Regions from separate parts of the Homo sapiens genome. Here regions 1, 2, 4, 5 and 6 are each linked to region 3. The links are contacts of gene promoters, found by promoter capture Hi-C in blood cells and fetal thymus (Javierre and others, 2016). All regions are on one chromosome and are shown on one strand. The core of a region is centred on a gene start or on the middle of the fragment in contact, and the rest is flanking DNA. Distances in the headings are between cores, read along the strand shown.

Region 1 (3,565 bases), core at 966-3,465, 220 kb before region 3:
CAGAGGCGCTCCCCACATCTCAGACGATGGGCAGCCGGGCAGAGACGCTCCTCACTTCCTAGATGGGATGGCGGCCGGGAAGAGGTGCTCCTCACTTCCTAGATGGGATGGCGGCTGGGCAGAGACGCTCCTCACTTTCCAGACTGGGCAGCCAGGCAGAGGGGCTCCTCACATCCCAGATGATGGGTGGCCAGGCAGAGACGCTCCTCACTTCCCAGACGGGGTGGCAGCCGGGCAGAGGCTGCAATCTCGGCATTTTGGGAGGCCAAGGCAGGCGGCTGGGAGGTGGAGGTTGTAGCGAGCCGAGATCACGCCACTGCACTCCAGCCTGGGCACCATTGAGCACTGAGTGAACGAGACTCCGTCTGCAATCCCGGCACCTTGGGAGGCCAAGGCTGGCGGATCACTCGCGGTTAGGAGCTGGAGACCGGCCCGGCCAACACAGTGAAACCCCGTCTCCACCAAAAAAATACGAAAACCAGTCAGGCATGGTGGTGCATGCCTGCAATCGCAGGCACTTGGCAGGCTGAGGCAGGAGAATCAGGCAGGGAGGTTGCAGTGAGCCGAGATGGCAGCAGTACAGTCCAGCTTCCGCTCGGCATCAGAGGGAGACCATGGAAAGAGAGGGAGAGGGAGACCGTGGGGAGAGGGAGACGAGGGAGAGGGAGAGGGAGAGGGAGATTTCTTTATTCTTTAAAATATTCAGTAAAGGTATTTTATAATCTTTTTTGTTTTGCTTTTCCTTCCTGAAAGCATTGAAATGGTGGTGGTCTTTAATCATAACTTGTGGGGTTTTATTTCAGGCGTGAGATTCAACATTTTGGGGTGAAAATCAGCATAGTTGAACCTGGCTACTTCAGAACGGGAATGACAAACATGACACAGTCCTTAGAGCGAATGAAGCAAAGTTGGAAAGAAGCCCCCAAGCATATTAAGGAGACCTATGGACAGCAGTATTTTGATGCCCGTAAGCTTTTTTCTTTTGATAGGGATAATGGGTACCCTGTATTAGTCCATTCTCATGCTGCTATGAAGAAATAACTGAGACTGGGTAATTTATAAAGAAAAGAGGTTTAATTGACTCACAGTTCTGCATGGCTGGGGAGTCCTCAGGAAACTTATAATCATGGCAGAAGGCACCTCTTCACAGGATGGCAGGAGAGGGAATGAGTGCAAGCAGAGGAAAGCCCCTTATGAAACCATCAGATCTTGTGAGAACTCACTACTAAAAGAACAGCATATGGGAACCACCCCCATGATTCAGTACCTCCCACCAGGTCCCTCCCACGACATGTGGAGATTATGGGACTATAATTCAAGATGAGTTGGGTGGGGACACAAAGCCAAACCATATCAGTACCCTTGCATGAGAAGGGGAAAAGAGGGTTGGTGGACAATGATTGGCAGATCCTCTCAGGACAAAGCTCCTTAAATAAAGCATTCCCAGAACAGAAGGAAGTCAGGAAGGTCCCAGTGGTCTCATGGTTGGCTTGGTCTGATGACTATCATGGTTGAGGAGGGGGACATATAGGCGGCCTGGGGCCAGGCTCTTCCCTGCCTTGTCCTCTGTGGGCCAGGGCACCTGAGCACTAGGAGGTATTACATACTTAGAGGCATGGACCCTTGAGAGGGTGTGCCCCTTGGTAGCATTGCAGGGCTGGTGTGAGATGTCTGCTCAACTAAAGTGCAGTCTTCATCATTGTTTACCTTTTGATAACAAAGGGCTTGTCCACAAACTATGTGTCTTAATGTGACAGGAGAAAGCATGTAGGTGGGAAGAGGTAAGTCAGTGAGGATAAGTCTTTGCAGAGCCCTATGGGCCATTCCCTGAGGCTATATTTCTCTTGTTCAGGTGATAGGAGCTTTGTGGGAGTGGGATTTGTCAATTTCCTATAAGAATATTATTCTGAAGACCTGGAGGAGGAGGTAGCAGCAGCGGTGAAAAATGGGAATGACTTCTAATAGGTACAGGGTTTCTTTTTGGGATGATGAAAATGTTCTAAATGTAGATTGTGATGATGATTGCACAACTCTGAATATACTAAAAATTATTGATTTGTACACTTTAAATGGCTGAATTTTATGATATATGAATATCTCAATAATGTTAAAAAAATTTCCAGTTGAAAAAGTATATTCCCATATCTGTGTTGTTCTAAACCTATTTAAAAATCCTCTAGTAACAGAATTAAGTTGTGTGTTTTTTTTTTTTTTTTTTGAGACAGAGTCTCGCTCTGTCACCCAGGCTGGAGTGCAGTGGCGTGATCTTGGCTCACTGCAACCTCTGCCTCCCGGGTTCAAGCAATTCTCTTGTCTCAGCTTCCTGAGTAACTGGGACTACAGGCATGCACCACCAAGCCTGGCTAATTTTTGTATTTTTAGTAGACATGGGGTTTCACCATGTTGGCCATGCCGGTCTCGAACTCCTGACCCCAAATTATCCACCCACCTCGGCCTCCCAAAGTGCTGGGATTACAGGCATGAGCCACTGCACCCAGCCATCAGAATTGAGTTTTGAGGCCAGGCGTGGTGCCTCACACCTATAATTCCAGCACTTTGGGAGGCTGATGTGGGAGGATCGCTTGAGCCCAGGAATTCAAGACCAGCCTGGGCAACATAGTGAGACCTTGTGTCTACAAAAAATAAACAAAATTAGCTGGGCATGGGGATGCGAACCTGTAGTCCCAGCTATGTGGGAAGCTGAGGAGGGAGGATCACGAGCCTGGGAGGCAGAGGTTGCAGTGAGCTGAGATTGTACCACTACACTCCAACCTGGGTGACAGAGCAAGACCCTGTCTCAAAAGAAACCCCAAAAAACAACCAAACAAAAAAAGAAAAATGATTGAGTTTTAAAATTAAAATTAAATAAAATCCAAAATTTAGTTTTTATTCCAGTGCATTAGCTATTGTTTAAGTGCTCAATAGCTACATGTGGCTAGTGGCTATCATATTGGGATGCACATTCTAGATCATTCTATTTTGTAGAAATTAGATGTGGTGAGACTTCTGTGACTGCATGATCTTAAAAATATAAGGAATAAGATTGTTGACCACCATTTCTTTTTTTGTATACAGTTTACAATATCATGAAGGAAGGGCTGTTGAATTGTAGCACAAACCTGAACCTGGTCACTGACTGCATGGAACATGCTCTGACATCGGTGCATCCGCGAACTCGATATTCAGCTGGCTGGGATGCTAAATTTTTCTTCATCCCTCTATCTTATTTACCTACATCACTGGCAGACTACATTTTGACTAGATCTTGGCCCAAACCAGCCCAGGCAGTCTAAAGAAAACTGGGTTGGTGCTTCTTGGAATGAAGGCAAAAATCTGAAATTGTTAGTGTCTCAGTAATCCTGATTTAGAACCCAGGCTTTTTGTAACAATGTGTTTTCTTGCCTAAATTCATTTATCTGGCATCATCAGAGTACTAACATGTTTATATTTCAGATATCCAAAGCTTACCACTTTAGGTGATGAATCTTTACTATTTTAGCCCTTTTTTGATGAGACTATTTGTCTAAAGTGAATCATTTGTTCTTGCCTTATTAAACAGAGTAGA
Region 2 (4,106 bases), core at 207-2,706, 140 kb before region 3:
TTCAGGGAAGGAATTCAAGTCAGCTACAGAAATTGGCTTAAGAGGAGCCAAATGTTAGTAACCAAGACAATTGGGAAAATGCCTTGAAACCATGACAGAGACCTTCAGAGCAGCCCCTCCCATCACAGGTCCAGAGGCCTAGAATGGAAAAATTGTTTCTTGGGCCAGGCCAAGGGCCCTGCTGCCCTGCACAACCTTGGAACAGTGCTCCCTGCACCCCAGCTGCTCCAGCTCCAGCTATGGTTAAAAGGGCTCCAGATATATCTCAGGCCACTGCTTCAGAGGGTGCAAGCCTTTAAGACTTGGCAGTTTCTTTGTGGTGCTAAGCCTGTGGGTGCGCAGAGGGAAAAAGTTGAGTCTTGGAAGCTTCCACCTAGATTTCAGAGAATTTATGGAAACACCTGGATGTCCAGGCAGAATTCTGATGCAGGGATGGAGCCCTCATGGAGAACCTCTACTAGGACAGTGTGGAGGGGAAATATGAGGTTGGAGCCCCCACATAGAGTTCCCACTGGGGTACTGCATAGTGGAGCTGTGAGAAGAGGGCCACTATCCTCCAGACACCAGAATCGTAGATCCATTGGCAGCTTGTACCATGTACCTGAAAAAGCTGCAGGCACTCAATGCCAGCCCTTGAGAGCAGCCATGGGAGCTGAGCCCTGCAAGCCAGAGGAGCAGTGCTGCCCAAGGCTTTGGGAGCCCACCCCTTGCATCAGTGTAGCCTACATGTGAGACATGGAGCCAAAGGAGATTATTTTGGGGCTTCAAGATTTAATGACTGCCCTACTGGATTTTGGACTTGCATGGGACCTGTAGCCCCTTTGTTTTGGTGATTTATCTCTTTTGGAATGGGTGTATTTATTCAATGTCTGTAGCCCCATTGTATCTTGGAAGTAACTAACTTGTCTTTGATTTTACAGGCTCACAGGTGGAAGGGACTTGCCTTGCCTCAGATGAGGCTTTGGACTGTGGACTCTTGAGTTAATGCTGAAATATGTTAAGATTTTGGGGGACTCTTGAGAAGTGATGATTGTATTTTGTAATGTGAGAAGAGCCTGAGATTTGGGAGGGGCCAAGTGCAGAATGATACAATTTGAATCTGTGTTCCTGCCCAATCTTACATAGAATTGTAATTCATAATGTTGGAGGAGGGGGCCTAATGAGAGGTGATTGGATCATGGGGGCAGATTTCCCCCTTGCTGTTCTCATGATAGTGAGTGAGTTCCCATGAGATCTGGTGGTTTAAAGGTGTATAGCACCTCCCCCTTCACTCTTTTCTTCCTGCTCCTGCATGTAAGATGTGCCTACTTGTCCTTTGCATTCTGCCATGATTGTAAGTTTCCTGAGGCCTTCTCAGCCATACTTCCTGTAACTTTGAGCACCTCAGTTAGCCATGGGGAATTCATTTAGTCTGTTGGCCAGGGGCATACTTTGACATTTCACTCCCTTTGGTTGAAACCTGCCATAGGCAGCATTGACTACCAGTGTTATGTCTTTGTCCCATATTATTGTTGAAGTGATGTGGCTACCTGCTCTGGGTCTGTCTAGTCCCTTGGTGGGACTTCTGTGACTAAGAGCTCATAGCCAATTTGAACAGCCTGGGCCAGGCAAGGTAGAAAGTCAGGTAAGCACCTGTTAATTGTCTAAGAGTGTTCCTTGTTGGAGTTTGGCAGAGGCATCAGGAAATTAGGAGAATTCAGGGTGTAGTCCAGTCTACAGGTAAATAACAAGGATCTGAAAACAATGTACAGATCTACAATATAGTAACAGTTATATAGTTTTTCTTTGGAAACATAAGTTTTTCTTTTTACACTGATTTTATAGGAATCTTAAATTTAAAACCTTTTGAGTTTAGGAAGCCAAATGAAGGCAAACTTTAGATTTCACTTACAATCTTAGTGTCCTTGGGCATGCCTGGAAGTAGCAATTTTGACTCACTTACGGTAAGCCTGGGAACTCTTGAAGCCAGGCATTTTATGTACATTCTTAAATATGACATTTCAGTCAAAACCTTGATATTATAACTGAGAATTCCACTTGTATCCTGCTTATAGAGAGCATGTAAATAAAATAAGAATACTCAAAAATAGTTTCTAAATTTTGGAGATCTCAAGTAGGGAGAAAAAGCAAATGCTTCCACTTTTGTTAACGAAAGGATATTTTACCAAATTATTACAAACTATAAAAAATTATGAAGTAAATTTCCTTGAATCTGAAAAACAAAACATGTAAGACCAAGAATGCTCTAAATAAAAGTCATAAAACATTATCCTTATCAATTACTTAATTTCATGTAATCAATTTTACCTTGCTTGACACTGATCAGCAGTTCCATGAAAAGCAATTTTGGACTATAGCTGATTGACAACACATATCACTATATCTCAGAATTTTATCACATGAAATTTTGAAACACATTTTAATAACACATTTACACATGCAACTTAAAGAAAGTTAAAAATAATTTTTATTTGACAATGCTTCCTAATAATATCTAAAAGATTTAATTTAGGGCTTTGATCCCAGGAAACCTTCCAAAGATGTCACAAGCTTTAAAGTTCAAAGTATCTGATTCAATAGAATCAAAGTTCGCTGCAAGATGATAGTTATTCATTTAACCAGACTGACAATCAAAAGATGTCAAAAACAATAGAAAAAGTTACATGAATGTAAAAACCTTAACCCTTTTAAAGCTCAGTTTTCCTAAGTAATAAAAAACCTAATAAAGATAACTTGAAGCACAGGAAATTATCTTGGTAAAACAGAATCTTTGTTTCCTAGGCCAATTGCCCACAAGGCAAAGAAAAGAAAATCTCTTGCAATGTGATTGCTTTTTCTTTTGGTAAGTTCATTTAGATAACCTGAAAGTTAAACCTGATGAAAAGTGAACTGGCAGAACCAGAAAAATGTTACAGGAGTCAACAAAAAGGTTGAAGGAGAATGTTATCATCCCAACCAAGCAAAAACCATATCTTTTTAGGATAGAAAGAAGTAGAGCTGTATTTCCAACCTGAAACTAGAGAAAGAAGTTAGATAGATTCCAGGGAGAAATGTGGCAGAAATAGAAACTGTTTGTAATTGAGAGGATGGCTGTCAAAGAAACACATTTCAGAATTAATCAAAACCTCCTATAATTTTACTAAGAGCAAATCAACATTCTAAAGAAACCTTGCTATTCTAACACACGGGACAAAATCTGCATCAGTGTGTTTTTCACATCAAAGTTCAATCCCTAGTAAGACCCATAAATAATTTCCCTCCAATTGTAGACAAAGTGATGACACAGAAAATTTCCTCTATAAATGCTATTTTTATAAACCTTATCATGACTTACTCAGACCATTTATGATATGCTTGGACATTCTGCTTTTTCTTACACTTTCTCTTTCTTAAATAACCAATCATTTTACTCTAGGAGAAAAATTTGCCATACAACATTCTTTCTTATACAAAATAATCCTCTTCCTTTTCAACCTTCCTTACCAAAAATACATCATATACTTCTCATATGCTTACATATGGAATGGTCTTTTTCATCTCTAGTAGTTTAATCACACACATTAGTTATAATGTCAACTCTTAGAAACCCTAATTTTCAAAGAAAACCCAGGAAGTTATCAATTTTTCTTTTGAGACAGAGTCTCACTCTATCACCCAGGCTGGAGTGCAGTGGCACAATTTCAGCTCACCTCAACCTCTGCCTCCTGGGTTCAAGCTATTCTCATGTCTCAGCCTCCCAAGTAGCTGGGACTACAGGCACACACCACCACACCTGGCTAATTCTTATATTTTTAGGACAGATGGGGTTTTGCTGTGTTGGCCAGGGTAGTCTCAAACTCCTGACCTCAGGTGATCCACCTGCTTTGGCCTCCCAAAGTGCTGGGATTACAGACATGAGCCACCACACCCAGCTAGAAGTTATCAACTCTTAACCACCAATCACATACCAAAAATCCATGATACACATTTTACAATTTCCAGAGACATAGGCTTTCTAACAAAACAACTCTTTAATATGAAACAGGACATTTCTACTAACAGATTCAAATAACTTTTGTTTTTCTTGGAAATAAGAAGCCAGCAGTATATGAGCCTATACTTACATT
Region 3 (3,728 bases), core at 83-2,582:
AACCAGAGGCATTCCCTTGGACACAATCTTATACTTCATTACCAGAGCCACTGGATCAAATTTTTCTCCTATTAATTTCCTCCCAAATACAAGCTTTCCTAATTCATTGAGCATATTCTTTTCCCTCATGATGCCAAATACCATGCACATGCTTGAACACAACTATCAAAGCTCCACTAGCTACTGAGGAACATATAAGGTGGTTCCGTTTTTTAGCTTTGTCATTGCTGTGTCTTCAACCTCTCAATAATCTCCAAATAAATCTCACGTTCTTGAATCCCCATCTCTCTCTGCCTATACTACATACCCGCTCTCTGGCCTTTCGATAACCCAGAGCCCCTCCAGATATTGCTTTATCACAGTCCCTGTATTCTGTGAAGTTAAAACACTCAGAATGCACAGTAAGAAAAGTAGAACACAACTGTGGTAGTATTTAATATTACTTTAATATGTTGTATTCTTTTTCGCCACCCTTTTCGGGGTTTATATTTTGTTGTCCCTGCACTAACAGATTTACTTGATGCCGCAAGAAAGACTTCTAATTATACAGGTAAGACTCCTAGAGGCTTGTTCACTACCACTTTCTGCCCTTTCTGACTCCTGCACGACTAAGGAAGAAGAGCTACTTGCATCCCTGTTCAGTCTCACAACTCTGCCCAACACAGCCCCTTTCTCCATCTCTCCAGATTCTAACAACTCCCAACTTTTTCTGGGGCCCAGGAAGCGTCTAAGTATTGTGGGGTACCGGCCAAGCATCTCCCGGGCCCTGGTGGCCACCCCTGAACGATGGGCGGGTCGGAGCACTGGGCAGCCAGAGGAGAGGGTGGGAGAGGGGGAAGCTGGGAACTTCCAAGGACACCCCAACAATCCCCGGGCGCCGCGGTCTCCCCTCCGGAGTCGCATCTGGGAGGGAAGGGCGCTGCATCGGCTGGGGCGCTCCCTCTGGAGGCAACGAGCGCCTCAGTCCCTCCACAAACAGCGCGGGGCTCACCCGGGTGAGCCTGTTGGGGGCATGGGGCTGAATAAGGGGCCAAGCGAGGGGCGGCGGGGCCGGCCGGGGTCGGCGCGCGGGCGGGGAGGATGGGTCCGGCCGAAGGGAGCGGGCAAGAGGGACCCCAGCAAGAGCGAGATAAATGCCGGGCCGAAGGTCGGGCTTCGGCCAGGGGCAGCCCTCGGCCTGGCCGCGCTTACCCGGCTCTGCGGCGCCCCGAGCACCATCGCCGCCGCCGCTTCACACAAAGGCCCCGGCCCGCCGTGCCCGGCCCGACGAGGAGGCGGCGCCGCCGGCCGCGGCCAGACTCTCCATCCGCCGCGCGGCTCGCCGCGACGGCCCGGGCCGCCCCCGCCGCCCGGCCCGCAGCGCCCCCCGCCGTCCCGGAGGAGGCAGCGCCCCCCGCCGCCCGGCCGCAGCGCCCCCCGCCGCCCGGGAGGAGGCAGCGCCCCCCCACGGCGGGGCCGGGTCCAGGACCTGCGCGAGGGGTGCAGGGGCTTCCAAGTCCCCAGGCTGGCTTTTTCTAAGCGCCCATCCACTGTGCGCGGGACTTGGTGCCTGAAGAGTGAAAAACCCTATCCAAACTCTCTTCACCTCCCCTGTTCTACGCTCACAGTTCCAAAAGCTTCTCCTCAGAACATCTACTATGGGCATTTTACAAAATGTTGTAAGATTGTTTGATTACTATATATCTCCTCCACTAGGCTGTGGGCTTCCTGAAGGCAGGGATCTGTGGCTTTGCACACGGCCGCAGGTCCACACTGACCCTTACCACACTTCCTGGCACAATAAGTGCTTAATACATTAAGCCTGCTTGAATGAATGAAGGAGCACTTGAGGGCTAGACCGCTACTACTGGACCCTTCTGATAATCCACTGCTGTCCCTCCTTCCATCTAGGTGGCCAAATGAAGAAAGTCACCGGATCTCACTGTACTTTGGCACCCCAGGCCTGCTTCCTGAAGCCTGCCCTCCCCAACTCTGTGTAGAACTCGATCACTCTTCCTCCCCACCCTTCTCCCAAATCATCTTTTCAAATGCTTCTGCCCAAGAATTGTCATCAAACGAAAACCACCTACACTGCCTGCCCCACCCACCACCACCAAAGACATTAGAAGTCTTCGTCATGTCGCCCTCCCTCCCTCAGTACAGAGGAAGCTCTTAGGCTCCAAGACCCTTCAGTTTCATCCTCTCTCCCATCCCATCCCAGTCACTGCCTGAAAATAGCTTGCAGCCAAGGACAAACTCCCAGGACAGGCGCATGGTAGGATTCAGTAATTCCTTGATGGATAAGTGGAAAGGAAGGGACACACTGAATGTTGCCAACAGATCTAAGCCAGTTTGGCCATTCAGCAATTGTCCATTCTCTTGATGAATTTGGGAGATTGTGTGTCCTCCTTTCCACAACCTCATTAACTGGTGGCAGACTATACTGAAAGCAAGCACTATACCAAATGCTGCCAAACATGTAACATTTGTTAGCCAGGAGATACAAAAACAGCCATAGAACTGTTCTTATAGTTTGGGGATGAGGCATCTCACTTTACCATCTAGTGAAAGGGTCACTTAGAGGTTGACACAATGTTTCAGTGGCAGGCCCAGCTCTCACAGTTGTGCAAGGTGACTGAGTCTCCCTAAAGTGGAATATCACACAGCCAGCAGGTCCAGACCTCCAGCATGACTCTGGAGACAGAGGGCTGCTGGGCTTGCAAGGGCCTGGGCCTATACAGTCTTTCTAACCAACTGCCCCAGCCATCTCTGGAGGGTTGACCCCAATAAACTTCACATGAAAACAAATCATCCAAAAGACGCAGGTGAAAGTATATACCACTTATACTGAAGTCTTTTTAAAGTAAATCACCATATAGTCACAATAACAAACATATACAAAGTTAAATGGAGAAGAAAGGGCCAGGAATTTAGTCAAGGTCTTGTGGACCAGATCTCTTTAGGCATCAACTGTTTTACAACAGGAAAGGGAGGGTCAGGATCCCTTCACACATTCTTCAAGTACAAACACAGGAATCTAACTTAACATTTGTCTTCATTTTTTTCTGGAGTCCCCAGTACTGCAATTTTTGTCAGTCCCACTAGAGAGCAATCTTTCTGCACTTAATGTTCCTACTTGCAAAGCAATTGTCTCATCTCAGCCTATAAGCCTAACTCCCACCAAGTCTGAGCAGAACCAACTCTTGTAGCTTTCATGACCCAGAGAAAGCCCCTAGACTCTGCAAAAGTGTCCCCAGTTTTAAGCCCTATAGATAGATAATTTTGAAAAGTCAAAGAGATGACTCACTGGAAAAAGGGTCTAGGCTCTGGGGTGGGGGCATTCTTTGACCTCTGGCTATAAAGCTGACATAAGTAATACTAGGGTGAGTATTCCCTCCTTTCCCCGCCCCCCACTATACAGCTGTCATTCCAAAGTGGCCCCAAGTCAGGCTGTAGGAAGATAGAATTTTCACTAGAATGAAAGGACTGCAGGAAGTGGCCTCTGGCTCTGTGGCCCTGTCCTTACACTGCCTTGGGAAATCTATGTGTTGATGTTTTATCAGTGCAATTCAGGGGCATAACAAAGGCCCCTGTACCACGCTAAGATAAGGAGCCTGAGGATTTCACTGGCTGTTCCATTAGGGTACAGAACCCCCCTTAGGATGGCGGGTGATAGTTGACATCATAGATTAGTAAAAGACATCCATACCCATGCATACCACATGTAAGTGCCTTACACATTCTGGGGA
Region 4 (3,637 bases), core at 159-2,658, 160 kb after region 3:
TCTCAGGGCTCTGTTCTGTCTGTGTTGTGTTGTGACGTGCTGCCCCAGTGGTTCCTGTCCCAGCTGATGTGTGAGCGGATGTGTTGGGTCAGTGCCACGTTGCCCCTCACTTTTTCTGTGTCTCGCATGCCAATGGTTGCCCCGGCGGTTTCTGTGTTTCAGAGAAGGATTGTGGGGACGGCTCTGACGAACAGACCTGTCCTGAGCCTGCCGGTCAGTGCATAGAAGCACATGCACCATCACCCAGAGCTCAGCTGGCCCCAGCCCCCTGCAGGTTCTCCAGGCCCCTACTCCAGAGCTGCTAGGATATGAAGAAAAAGCAACAGAGAGGAGGGAGAGCAGAAAACAGAGGGAGAAAGCAAATAGTGGTCAGGAAAGAAGCAGAGACGGCAGAGGGAGCCTCTGAGGAAAGGAGATGACAGAGAGGTGGTGACAAAAAGCCCAAGATGCAAGGGGAGGAGAGAGTTAGAGAAGCAAATCCAGTTGGAAAAGAGGCAGGAACATAACCCAAACCCCAGTCTCCACCACATGTCCCATAAATACAGAGGGTCAAGTCAAGCAGCCCCCACCCAATGCTGAGAAAGCAGGAGCTTCCTTCAGCCAGCCTCAGCGAGCTTGGTCCAGAAGTGGCCCCCACTCTTGCCAGCCACAGGCAGGGCCCCTGTAAGCCAGGCACCCAGAGCATGGTATTCAGCAGTGCCAGCCTCAGGGCAGGCCTGTAAAGCTTGTCTCAAGCCGGCCACGCCTGCACCCCACCTACCTCTCTCCCTCCAAAACTAGAGAAACCCCTGCCTTTCCCCCAAAAGCAAGCAGACCCCTGTTCCCACACCTGCCAGAAAGGGGAAATGAAATGTTTAATGTTCCCTGCACCCAGCCTTTCTGAGCTTCAGTGAGGGGCCCTCCAGGAGCCTTCTCCTCCTCCTCATCCTGACCACGTGGGCCATGGTGCATGCTGCAGTCTATGCAGTTTCTGTGTCTTTTCTGTTTGTTATTTTCCCAGTGGGGGGGTTAGGGTGGGCTGAGGGTGGGTTCTGGGCAGGGGGCCCAAGCTGGGATCACAGAGAAGGCTGCTCCACCAACTCCCGCTTTGCCTCTCCCCTTCTTCCCCCACCGCCAGACAATGACTGTGGGGACAACAGTGACGAAGCCGGCTGCAGCCACTCCTGTTCTAGCACCCAGTTCAAGTGCAACAGCGGGCGTTGCATCCCCGAGCACTGGACCTGCGATGGGGACAATGACTGCGGAGACTACAGTGATGAGACACACGCCAACTGCACCAACCAGGGTGGGCACCAGGGGCCCGTGGGGTGGGGATGAGATCGAGCCCCCTGCATCAGACACCCAGCCTATCCATCTGTCTTTCAGACCCACGGTGTGTCGGCCACCATCTGGGAGCCAGAGGTAGCCTAGGCATGGCTCTTGTCCTTCAGGAGCTCCCGGTCCTGTGGGAGAGGGAGGTTGCCGAAAAATCATTGCCACACGCTGTTAATATCATGCGCTTTGCAGTTGGTGGCCTTGGGTTTGAGCTCCAGCTCTGCAGCTTATTATCTGGGTGGCCTTGAGCAAGTTACTTAATCTCCATGGGCCTCTGTGAGTTTCGTCTGCAAAGTGGGGTAATAATAGCACCAACATCACAGCGCTGATGTGGGAGTTTAGTGAGATCACGCACGAAAAGTGCTCAGCACACGGCCTGTGTTTGGTAAATAGTAGCTTGAGAAAAGGATGCTGCAGGCAGGGATGAATGAGCCTGAAGAGACAGAGGAGAGAGGGCCTGGCTCCACAAGGCTCCCAGTGCCCTGGCCTCTGGGGCCCAGCCTCGGGGGCGGTGGGGACCTAGTTTTCTGGAGGGATGGGCCCTCTCAAGGAATGCTGGCTTCCTAGCTCTGGAAGATGTGCAGATTTTTATGTGAAAACTACCAAATTTTTAACACTACAGTATTAGTTTCTCTCGTCTCACAGTTCTGGAGGCTGGAAGTCCCAGACCCAACTGTTGGCAGGGTGGGTTCCTTCTGAGGCCGTGTGGGAGATTCTGTCCCAGGCCTCTCCCCAGCCTCCGCGGTTTGCTGGCAATCTTTGCAGCTCCTTGGCTTGTCGAAGCTTGACCCGATCTCTGCCTTCATCTTCACACGGTGTCCTCCCTGTGGGCATGTCTGTCACCAGATCCCCATTTCCCCTTTCTGTGAGGACACCTGTCATATTGGATTAGGATACACCCTTATGACCTCATCTTAAGTTGACCATCTGCAAAGACACTATTTCCAAATAAAGTCATATTCACAGGTATTATGGGATAGGACTAATATCTTTTTAGGGAACACAATTCAAGCCATACCAACTGGCAGTTGATTTTAGAAGTTTTAAAAGGCTGGGTGCAGGCCAGGCATGGTGGCTCATGCCTATAATCCCAGCACTCTGGGAGGGTGAAGTGGGAGGATCACTTGAGGCCAGGGGTTCAAGACCAACCTGGTTAACATAGGGAGAACCCATCTTGAAAAAAGAAAAGAAAAAAAAAAAAGGCTGGGTGTGTTGACTCACACCTGTAATCCTATCACTTTGGGAGGCAAGGCAGGAGGATCACTTGTTTCCAGGAGTTTAAGACCAGCCTGGGCAACATAGTGAGACCCCTTTCTCTACAAAAAATAAACAAAATTAGCTGGGCATGGAGGCACATGCCTGTAGTCCCAGCTACTCAGAAGGCTGAGGTGAGAGGTTGAGCCCAGGAGGTTGAGGCTGCAGTGAGCTGTGAGCTCGCCACTGCACTCCAGCCTGGGTGACAGAATAAGACCTTGTCTCAAAAGAAAAAAAAAGTTTAAAAAAAACTACAGACCAAACTCTTCCTGCAGGCCTCATCTGACCCATGGACCACTAGATTACAGCCTCTGCCTTATAGAGTTAGGGCACATTCCCACCCTAGTAGGAGAAGACTGGACAGCGTTGAGTGCCCACCTTGAGCCCTGCCCTGAGAGGGAGGACAGAGAAGGCCACAGGAAGCTTGGGAAATAGTAATTGCGTCTCCAGGGCTATCTCTGTGAAGGGGAGGGTGAGGGGCACAGGTGATATCCCTTAGGGTTCTGAGAAGGGGCCTCTGGAGGCTGTGTGGTGTGGTGAGAAGAGCTCCCTGCCGCTCCCAGATAAGCTGGGCAAATTTGGACAAGTTGCTTCCCCTGAGCCTGGGCATCCTCCTTTATGAAATGAGCTGAGGTATGTGAGGCCTGGCGTGGAGGAGCAGGGTGTCACTATTGGTAGCAGTTGTTAACTATGGTATGAGCTGGATGGTCTGGGACCATTCAGGAGGAGTTGTGTTTAGACTGCAGGTAAATGGACAGGAGGGAGGGTCTTCCAGTGGGGATGGCATGGTCCGGAGAATGCTGTCGTCAAGACTTAGAGGGTGAAACTGAGCACTTCCGTAGGGTGACAGTGGGGCCAGGTGGAGCCGTTCAGACCGAGGGAAAGGCTCGTGCAGGGACAGTGGGGAATGAGGCTGTCCTCAAAGGGGGCAGATGATGACAGCAGGTGTAAATCGTGAGAGGCTTGATTTGGGAGGCACTGGGAACCTTTGAAGGATTTCCAAGCCGGAAGGTGCTGTGATGTAGGAGGTGATTTCGGAACACAGCCCTAGAGGAAGATTAGATTGAGA
Region 5 (3,929 bases), core at 1,181-3,680, 180 kb after region 3:
CCCAGGGAACCCAGTGTGAGAGGGCTGGGAGACAAGTTAGACCCATGGGGCAACTTCCGATGGCCCGAGAGACCCAGGGATGGGGAGGAAAGGCTGAGGTGCTCTGGGACAGATCTTGGCATTGGACTCTGGGCCCTGGAGGGTCATTCAAGCTGGGAATACCGAGGCAGAGGGCAGAGCTTTCGCCAAAGCCTGGATGACAAAGGCACCAGTGAGCCTTTCCCAAGGCAGGCCCTGCCCTCTGTACCCTCCCCTCCCCCAGGCACCAACGTGTGCGCGGTGGCCAATGGCGGGTGCCAGCAGCTGTGCCTGTACCGGGGCCGTGGGCAGCGGGCCTGCGCCTGTGCCCACGGGATGCTGGCTGAAGACGGAGCATCGTGCCGCGAGTATGCCGGCTACCTGCTCTACTCAGAGCGCACCATTCTCAAGAGTATCCACCTGTCGGATGAGCGCAACCTCAATGCGCCCGTGCAGCCCTTCGAGGACCCTGAGCACATGAAGAACGTCATCGCCCTGGCCTTTGACTACCGGGCAGGCACCTCTCCGGGCACCCCCAATCGCATCTTCTTCAGCGACATCCACTTTGGGAACATCCAACAGATCAACGACGATGGCTCCAGGAGGATCACCATTGTGGAAAGTGAGCCCAGACCCTAAGTCTTCCCAGGAAGTGGGACATGGGGCGGGGAGCAGCACAGACTCTTAGACCCCAGCCAGGCACTCTACCCTAGGTCTGAATCCCAGCAGCTACAACTCAGCTGAATCCAACTGCACCCCCGCAGTTACATGACTCCTGATTTGGAGTCAGCGTCAGCCCCCGACTTCCTCCCGCCACTGGTCCTAGTTCTGCCTTCAGAGCTGCACAGAACAAGCGAGAGGTCTCTGTGGAGCCCAACGCTCACAAACCCAGGCTGCAGACATGGGGCTGAGCTCCAGTCACTTGGGCTTTCAATAACTTGGGTCAGTTTCCTGCTCTTGCCAAGCCTGAGCCTTCTCATCTGCGTGGATGAGTGTCTCATCTGAGACAGGATTCCTCGAGCTGCTGCGCAGGAAGGCTTAGCTCAGTGATGCTGGGGACGGAGTGTGTGCTCTGGAAAGAGCAGTTACAGTGTCAGGGCTGTCATCACAGGACAGCCTTTCAGCTCTTTGAAAACTGCATCCTGCTACATTTTCTCTTCTTCAGCCTGGTTACCACCGGGTCCCTTGACTCATTCATTTGCTCATATATTCATTCAGCTGGTCCATAAAGACCTGCCAGGCACCGAACTAGGTGCTACGTATACAGACCTGTCCTTTCAGCCTTTTCTGGGACATTTTCTGCTGCACATAGTCCAGCCTGCATGTCTGTCTAAAAATGTAGCATCCGAAGCTAAACTCGGTACTCCATGCTCGTAGCTTGATCAGGAGAGACTGGCACATCAATCCCCAGACCCCTGGAAGGGATGTCCCCTCACCTCCGGCTGTCTGCAGACCATACCACAGCATGGCCCTTTGGCAGCCACCATCGCTTATAGCCACTAACACTCTAGTCTTTTCTCTTACACTGCTGTTCGGCTGTGTCTCTCACTGTGCCTTGGTTCTTTAACCTGAGTTTAAGATGTCTGCTTTATAAAATAATCAATCCAGCTCAGGGTCTTTTTAAGTAGGGGGCTCCCCAGTACAGCCCAAGCAGGATTTGATTTACAGAAATCTACATTGCACTCAGCTCAGCAGAACTGCAGCTCCAGGAAAGTGCAAACACACCAGAAAGCCCGATTGCCCTCAGTGGGAGAGGGTTGAGAGGTGACCACAGGTCATTTGAGTGAGGACAGCAGAGGTTGGGGGCACTGAGTCAGACCCTGGTGCCCCCGAGCCCTCTCTGCTGCACCTCTTGCACTCCCATACCCCACACTTCGCCTTCCAGCCAGGAGAGCACCTGCCCCAGGCTGTCCCCCACGGCTCCTGTGCAGGCTGCCCTCTGGGCCCTCCTGACAAATCGCTGCTCCTGTCTCTTCACAGACGTGGGCTCCGTGGAAGGCCTGGCCTATCACCGTGGCTGGGACACTCTCTATTGGACAAGCTACACGACATCCACCATCACGCGCCACACAGTGGACCAGACCCGCCCAGGGGCCTTCGAGCGTGAGACCGTCATCACTATGTCTGGAGATGACCACCCACGGGCCTTCGTTTTGGACGAGTGCCAGAAGTGAGCTGCTGCCTGGGGATGGGGGTAGCAGGGAGAGGTGGGACTCGGGGTGGCAGAAACTCCCCAGGCAGATCCAAGCGGGGGTGCAGGAGAGGCAGGCCCTCACTTGAGCTCCACCCTTCCCTGCTGTGTGATCTGGGGAGAGGTGCAAAAGCTTCCTAAGCTTCAGGTTCCTCTTCTGTGATACAAGCTGGCTAAGATTCCAGCTGCCTGCACCAAAGGGAGCATCAGGACTGTGGGGGACGCTCTGCCTTTGTGATTGATTCATTCATCAGAGCACCATGTTGGAGGCACAGGGTAGGGCCTCTAGCTCTGGGATCCAAAGCTTCAGGCAAAGAATGTTTGTCGAACCCTTCGTACAGAAGCCTAAGGCTGGGCCTACCAAGCCACCTAGCTGGGTTGAGAAGTCATACTTGTGGGAAGTAATGGTAACTGGCACAGGGCTGTATACGGGTGACCACAGGTGTCATGAAGGCAGTAGATTGGCCCAGAGCCTGGAACTGGAAAAGACAAGGAAGGCCAGCTCGGACAGGGGAAGTGCTTTGAGCAAAAGCCTGAAGAAAGGCAAATTCAAGGCAGGGAGGACAGAGGGGGACCTCTGCATGCCATAGAGCATAGGCAGGCCTGAGCCCAGCCAGGAAGTGAGGTCAGGGTGCGGAGGAGTTAGGAGCACAAGCCAGGACAGGTGGCAGAAAGCACCCGGGGGTGGGTGCTCCCCCTGGAGGGTTCACCCGCAGTCAGCCTGCTCTGTTCTCCCGCAGGGGCAGCCCTCATCCCGGCTGTTTGGGCCTCTAGTGAGCCACCCCCTCGCCTTAGGGATCCAGGCCCACATGTTAGCAACATTTTTTTCCCAATTCAGCAGTGCTTGGAATGTTTTTCAAAAGCTTTACTAGGAAACTAGTAAACACAACCCAAAGCAGCTGTATAGATACGTGAGTGTCCCGAACCCAGATTCCCCCCACCAGTCCCCCAATGTCAGTCACCTCCAACCTGGCTCAAGGACCCTCTGTTTCCTCCTGCCTCTGTCATCTGGCACATCTGCAGCTGATGATGAAGGTCCAGTCCCCCCTTCCATGACCCTCGGCTGCCTCACCTGTCTGGGGATGGCCTCAGAGCCTGTCCCTCATGAGTCTGGAGCTTCCCTGGAGGGTCCAGCAAGGCTGCCTGGCCCTCGTCCCAGAGGACGTGACCCCCTGGCTGCCCACCAAGCTCCTTTCTTATGAGGCCAGGGGATTCCATCACGCATTCAGCGAGTGGCTTTTGAGGGCAAAGAAGGTGCAGAGGACCCAGTGGGGAGCGCGAGGGGCGTCATGAAGAGCTTCGTGGCTGTGTGCTGAGGACTGGCCCCACCTGGAAGTCAGGGAACGTGTCCTTGAAGAGGCGGCATGTTAGCCAGCGTCTGAGGATGGCAGGAGTGGCTGGGTGGGAGCATGGTCCCAGTGCCCAGGAGAAAGAGCTGAGCTGGCAGGAGGGGCCCTCCCCCTGGCCACAAGGAGCAGGCACTTTCGGGGAATCAGAAGGAGCCAGTGTGGACCCCAGTGGAGAGGGCAGGGGCAAGTGGAGACTCCAACAACCCAGCCTCCTCCTGAGCCCTCCCCGCGTCAGCACTGGAGCACTGATGGCCCTGTAGAGCTCACAGTAGGATAGTTAGAAGGTCCGCCATGTTCCTGGACACTGAGCACCTACCCCAGGAAAGCCTCTCTCTCCCTCCTGCCCCATTCCTGGGAAGCAGGTTCACCCA
Region 6 (3,572 bases), core at 51-2,550, 200 kb before region 3:
CTAGATACAAGATCTTGTACCTAGTAGTTATTCAATAAATATTTGCTGAATGAAGCAAACACAGAAAATATAAAATTATGTGAAGTGTAAAGTCTGTTTTTCTGATGCTTTGTGAGGGAGAGATTATTTTTAAAATGTATTTATTTATTTTTAACTTTTTAAAAATTAAACTTTTTTTCTTTTCTTTTTTTTGAGACAGGGTCTCATCTTGTCACCCAGACTGGAGTGCAGTGGTGTAGTCTCAGCTCAGTGCTCACTGTAGCCTTGACCTCCCAGGTTCAAGCAATCCCCCTGCTTCAGCCCCCAAAGTTGTTGGAACTACAGGCACACACCACCACACCCGGCAACTTTTTGTATTTTTTGTAGAGATGGGGTTTCACCATGTTACCTAGGCTGGCCCCAAATTCCTGGGCTCAAGCAATTAACTTGCCTGGACCTCCCAAAATGCTAGGATTACAGGCATGAGCTACCATGCCCAGCTTACTTTTAACTTTTATTTTAGTTCAGGCTGGGGTACATGTGCAGGTTTGTTAATACAGGCAAACGCATGTCATGGGTGTTTGGTGTACAGACCATTTTGTTACCCAAGTACACTAAGCATAGTACCTGATAGCTATTTTTCCTGATTCTCTTTCTTCCTCCCTCCTGCGTCCCTCAAGCAGGCCCCAGTGTCTGTTATTCCCCTCTTTGTGCCCATGTGTTCTCATTATTTAGCTCCCACTTATATGTGAGAACATGCAGTATTTGGTTTTCTGTTCCTGTGTTAGTTTGCTAGGGATAATGACTTCCAGCTTCATTCATGTTCCTGCAAAGGACATCATCTCGTTCTTTTTTACAGCTGCATAGAATTTCATGGTGTATATGTACCACATTTTCTTTATCCAGTCCACCATTGATGGGTATTTAGGTGGAATCCATGTCTTTGCTATTGTGAGTAGTGCTGCAGTGAACATTAATGTGCATGTGTCTTTATGGTGGAATGATTTATATTCCTCTGGGTATATACCCAGTAATGAGATTGCTGGGTTGAATGGTAGTTCTGAATTCAGTTCTTTGAGGAATTGCCTTACTGTTTTCCACGATGGTTGAGCTAATTTACATTCCAACCAGCAGTGTATAAGCATTCCTTTTTCTTGGCAACCTCGCCAGCATCTGGTATTTTTTGACTTTTTAATAATAGTCATTCTGACTGGTGTGAGATGGTATCTCATTGTATTATGGGATCTTTGGGGTGTTGTTTTTCTAGCCAGGAACCTCTGTGGCTGGTGGCCCCTGTGCCCGAGTTTTGCTCGGGCCCACTGGGCTTGTTTCACCTACTCAGCCTGGCAGGCTGTGTTTGGCTCACCCTACTGGCCTGGGACCCATGCCTGCCAAGGGTGAGTCAGGCATGGAACAGTGAGGAGTGTGTGAGTGAGTGTGGGATCCGGCCACTGTGCACAGTCAGACGTACCAGCTGCCGCAGTGGGCCGGGCAGCTCCAGGTGCTGGCATGGGCTCTGGCTCTCTGTGAGGCTGCAGCTAGACCAGGCACACTGCAAGCAGCTTCTACGGCTGGCACTGGAGGACACATTGGCACCCAGAAGCTCGGAGATGCCAGGAACCACAGGGCCCCAAAATAGGAGTCACAGCCCTGGTCTGGGGAACTCCCAGGTCTGGGTTCCCCAAAGGGCTGCAGCTCTTCTTTTCTTCTCTTTGCCCACAATGAGGCAAGCAAGGGGCATGTCTCAGCCCTGTTTGTGTTACAGCTCTTTTATCCTTGCCATTCAGTGGGTCCTGAGTTCTTGTCCTGTGACCAGGAAGAATGAGGTAGGCAGAAAAGAGGAGAGTGAGTAAGATGAAGGGGAGCTTTATTGAGTGATAGAACAGCTCAGAGGAAACCTGCAGGGGGCAGCTACTTTCTGCAGCCAGGGTGTCTTGATGAGTGTTCAGCTCCTAGCAGAGAGGGTAGCTCCTCTCTGCTAGGCAATTCATCCTGACAAGTGTTCAGGTATCAGCAGAGAGAGTAGCTTTTGTCTGCAGGCAGGTCATCCCAACATCTGCTCAGCTCTGGCTGAACCCAGGGCTTTTATGGGCCTCAGAGGGGAGGAGGTGAGCACTGATTGTTCCATGGGCAGCCATGGATGGGCCTGGAAAAGACACCACAAGTTTCCACTGCAGTCTATGGGAGCAGCAGCCTGGCCCCCAGCCTTCAGGCCCTCCCTGGCCTGAAGGTGGGGCCTCACGTGGGACCCACTCCCTTCCCCCCAGGAACCTGTCTGCCTCCTGCTGCCATTCATGGCACCCAGGCTGTACGTGCCAAGGGGCACCTGCAGGCCAGTGCCAAACTGCCCTTATCACCCCCTCAGCTTCCCTCCTGTGCTCTTTGGCACCCAAGGTCCAGAGGCGGGCTGAAGTGGCAGGGGGCTGGTGTGTCAACACTTCCCTGAGCATGTACACACCTGGCTGGGCTGTGACAGAGCTCAGGCTTGACCATGACTTTGCTCTTAGATCGGAGTGGGTACCGACAGCAGGGAGAAGCCAGGCGGCAGGAGCAGGCACTTCCAAGCCTGTGAGGGCAGGGGGAGAGGACCATCCTGGGTCTCCAAGAGTGCAGGGATGCCTGGGTTCACAGCCACAGTTTGGGTGTCTGCAGCTGCATCCAGGGGGTGGGGGTCCTGCTCTGTGGAGTGGGAGGTCATGCTCTGCAGTCACGACTTGGGTGGCTGCAGCCACGCCTAGGAGGACAGGGCTCCTCCCTGCTCCCAGCACCCCCAAGAGCACAGGGAGGCCTGGGTCTGCAGCCATGACTTGGGCAGCTTAACCTGTGCCCCAGGGGGTGGGGCTTCTTCTTGCTCTGTGCTTTGGGAGGCCCAGTTTGCAGCCATAACTTGGGCAGACTTGTGTCTGCACCTGGGGAGCTCCCACCCTAACAAATCAGAAGGGGCAGGGCTCCCACTTGTCTGAGGCTCCCACCAGCTGCATGGAGTATACAGCTCTGGCTGTACCTCCCTGCTGCAGCCTGTGTGATGGCAGCGGCCACTCTAGATGGCCCACCACTGCCATCAATCACCACTCTGTAGAGGTACATCTAACTGCCGTTAGGATAGGGACAGTGACCATTCTTAACTGCTTCATGCTGACAGGGGGCATTGTTTTTGGGAAAATGGCAGTCAGGTTTTCTCTCAGGGGCCTATATAAGGGTCTCCAGTAAAAGGGAGCCATTGTCCGAGGCTCCATTTGCATGACCATTGGAGTTTGACGGCCCATCCTTTTTGTTTCTTCTGAGCTGCAGTCAGAGATCACTGGTTGGTTCACCCTCACAACTGTCAAAAGCTACAAATATCTCAAAAGGAAAGCTTCCTTGATTCTGAAAAACAAAACGAAGGATCATCAATGGTTCAAGCAAAATGTCAAAAAAGATTACTTCAGTCTTCTGTTAGTTCCGTTCACTCAAAGAAACTCCTGTTCACAATCTCCAAAATTATCAGAAACCTTGGGACAAAAAGGTGCCTCAAGAGGGTGTATGGGCCCATTAAATTAGTCCCAGGCAGCCCTCACCAAATTGCAGCTAGCAACTGGCTGGGGCTGCTCCTC

What was found. Contacts are between HindIII fragments. The CHiCAGO score rates a contact against its expected background, and 5 or more counts as called.
Region 1: a fragment that was not itself captured here is called in contact with the fragment with the promoter of ZBTB39 in region 3 in 5 of 17 cell types (M0 macrophages, M2 macrophages, M1 macrophages and 2 more); the score reaches 9.0 in M0 macrophages.
Region 2: a fragment that was not itself captured here is called in contact with the fragment with the promoter of ZBTB39 in region 3 in 2 of 17 cell types (M2 macrophages and M0 macrophages); the score reaches 6.6 in M2 macrophages.
Region 4: a fragment that was not itself captured here is called in contact with the fragment with the promoter of ZBTB39 in region 3 in 1 of 17 cell types (erythroblasts); the score reaches 5.7 in erythroblasts.
Region 5: a fragment that was not itself captured here is called in contact with the fragment with the promoter of ZBTB39 in region 3 in 6 of 17 cell types (erythroblasts, activated CD4 T cells, endothelial precursors and 3 more); the score reaches 7.5 in erythroblasts.
Region 6: a contact is called between a fragment that was not itself captured here and the fragment with the promoter of ZBTB39 in region 3, in 6 of 17 cell types (M2 macrophages, M1 macrophages, M0 macrophages and 3 more). The highest score is 18.3, in M2 macrophages.

What each region holds. Positions count from the first base shown.
Region 1 is chr12:56,784,050-56,787,614 of GRCh38, forward strand. It overlaps HSD17B6 (hydroxysteroid 17-beta dehydrogenase 6), which reads left to right. Exons shown (of 5, transcript NM_003725.4): 4 at 804-967; 5 at 3,076-3,565. The coding sequence ends at 3,293. Among named protein-coding and RNA genes, the nearest start is that of HSD17B6, 23 kb to the left of the region's middle. The HindIII fragment of the contact is 2,491 bases long and covers 971-3,461 here.
Region 2 is chr12:56,864,094-56,868,199 of GRCh38, forward strand. No RefSeq gene overlaps it. Among named protein-coding and RNA genes, the nearest start is that of SDR9C7, 68 kb to the right of the region's middle. The HindIII fragment of the contact is 2,184 bases long and covers 365-2,548 here.
Region 3 is chr12:57,005,214-57,008,941 of GRCh38, forward strand. It overlaps ZBTB39 (zinc finger and BTB domain containing 39), which reads right to left and starts at 1,333. Exons shown (of 2, transcript NM_014830.3): 1 at 1,192-1,333. RefSeq lists silencers at 1,002-1,151, 1,172-1,531. The HindIII fragment of the contact is 1,523 bases long and covers 92-1,614 here.
Region 4 is chr12:57,168,023-57,171,659 of GRCh38, forward strand. LRP1 (LDL receptor related protein 1) reads left to right here. Exons shown (of 89, transcript NM_002332.3): 20 at 1,118-1,285. Among named protein-coding and RNA genes, the nearest start is that of LRP1-AS, 22 kb to the left of the region's middle. The HindIII fragment of the contact is 1,373 bases long and covers 723-2,095 here.
Region 5 is chr12:57,185,269-57,189,197 of GRCh38, forward strand. LRP1 (LDL receptor related protein 1) reads left to right here. Exons shown (of 89, transcript NM_002332.3): 41 at 263-640; 42 at 1,999-2,188. Among named protein-coding and RNA genes, the nearest start is that of MIR1228, 7.3 kb to the right of the region's middle. The HindIII fragment of the contact is 162 bases long and covers 2,350-2,511 here.
Region 6 is chr12:56,802,496-56,806,067 of GRCh38, forward strand. No RefSeq gene overlaps it. Among named protein-coding and RNA genes, the nearest start is that of HSD17B6, 41 kb to the left of the region's middle. RefSeq lists an enhancer at 2,175-2,824. The HindIII fragment of the contact is 4,063 bases long and covers 1-3,332 here.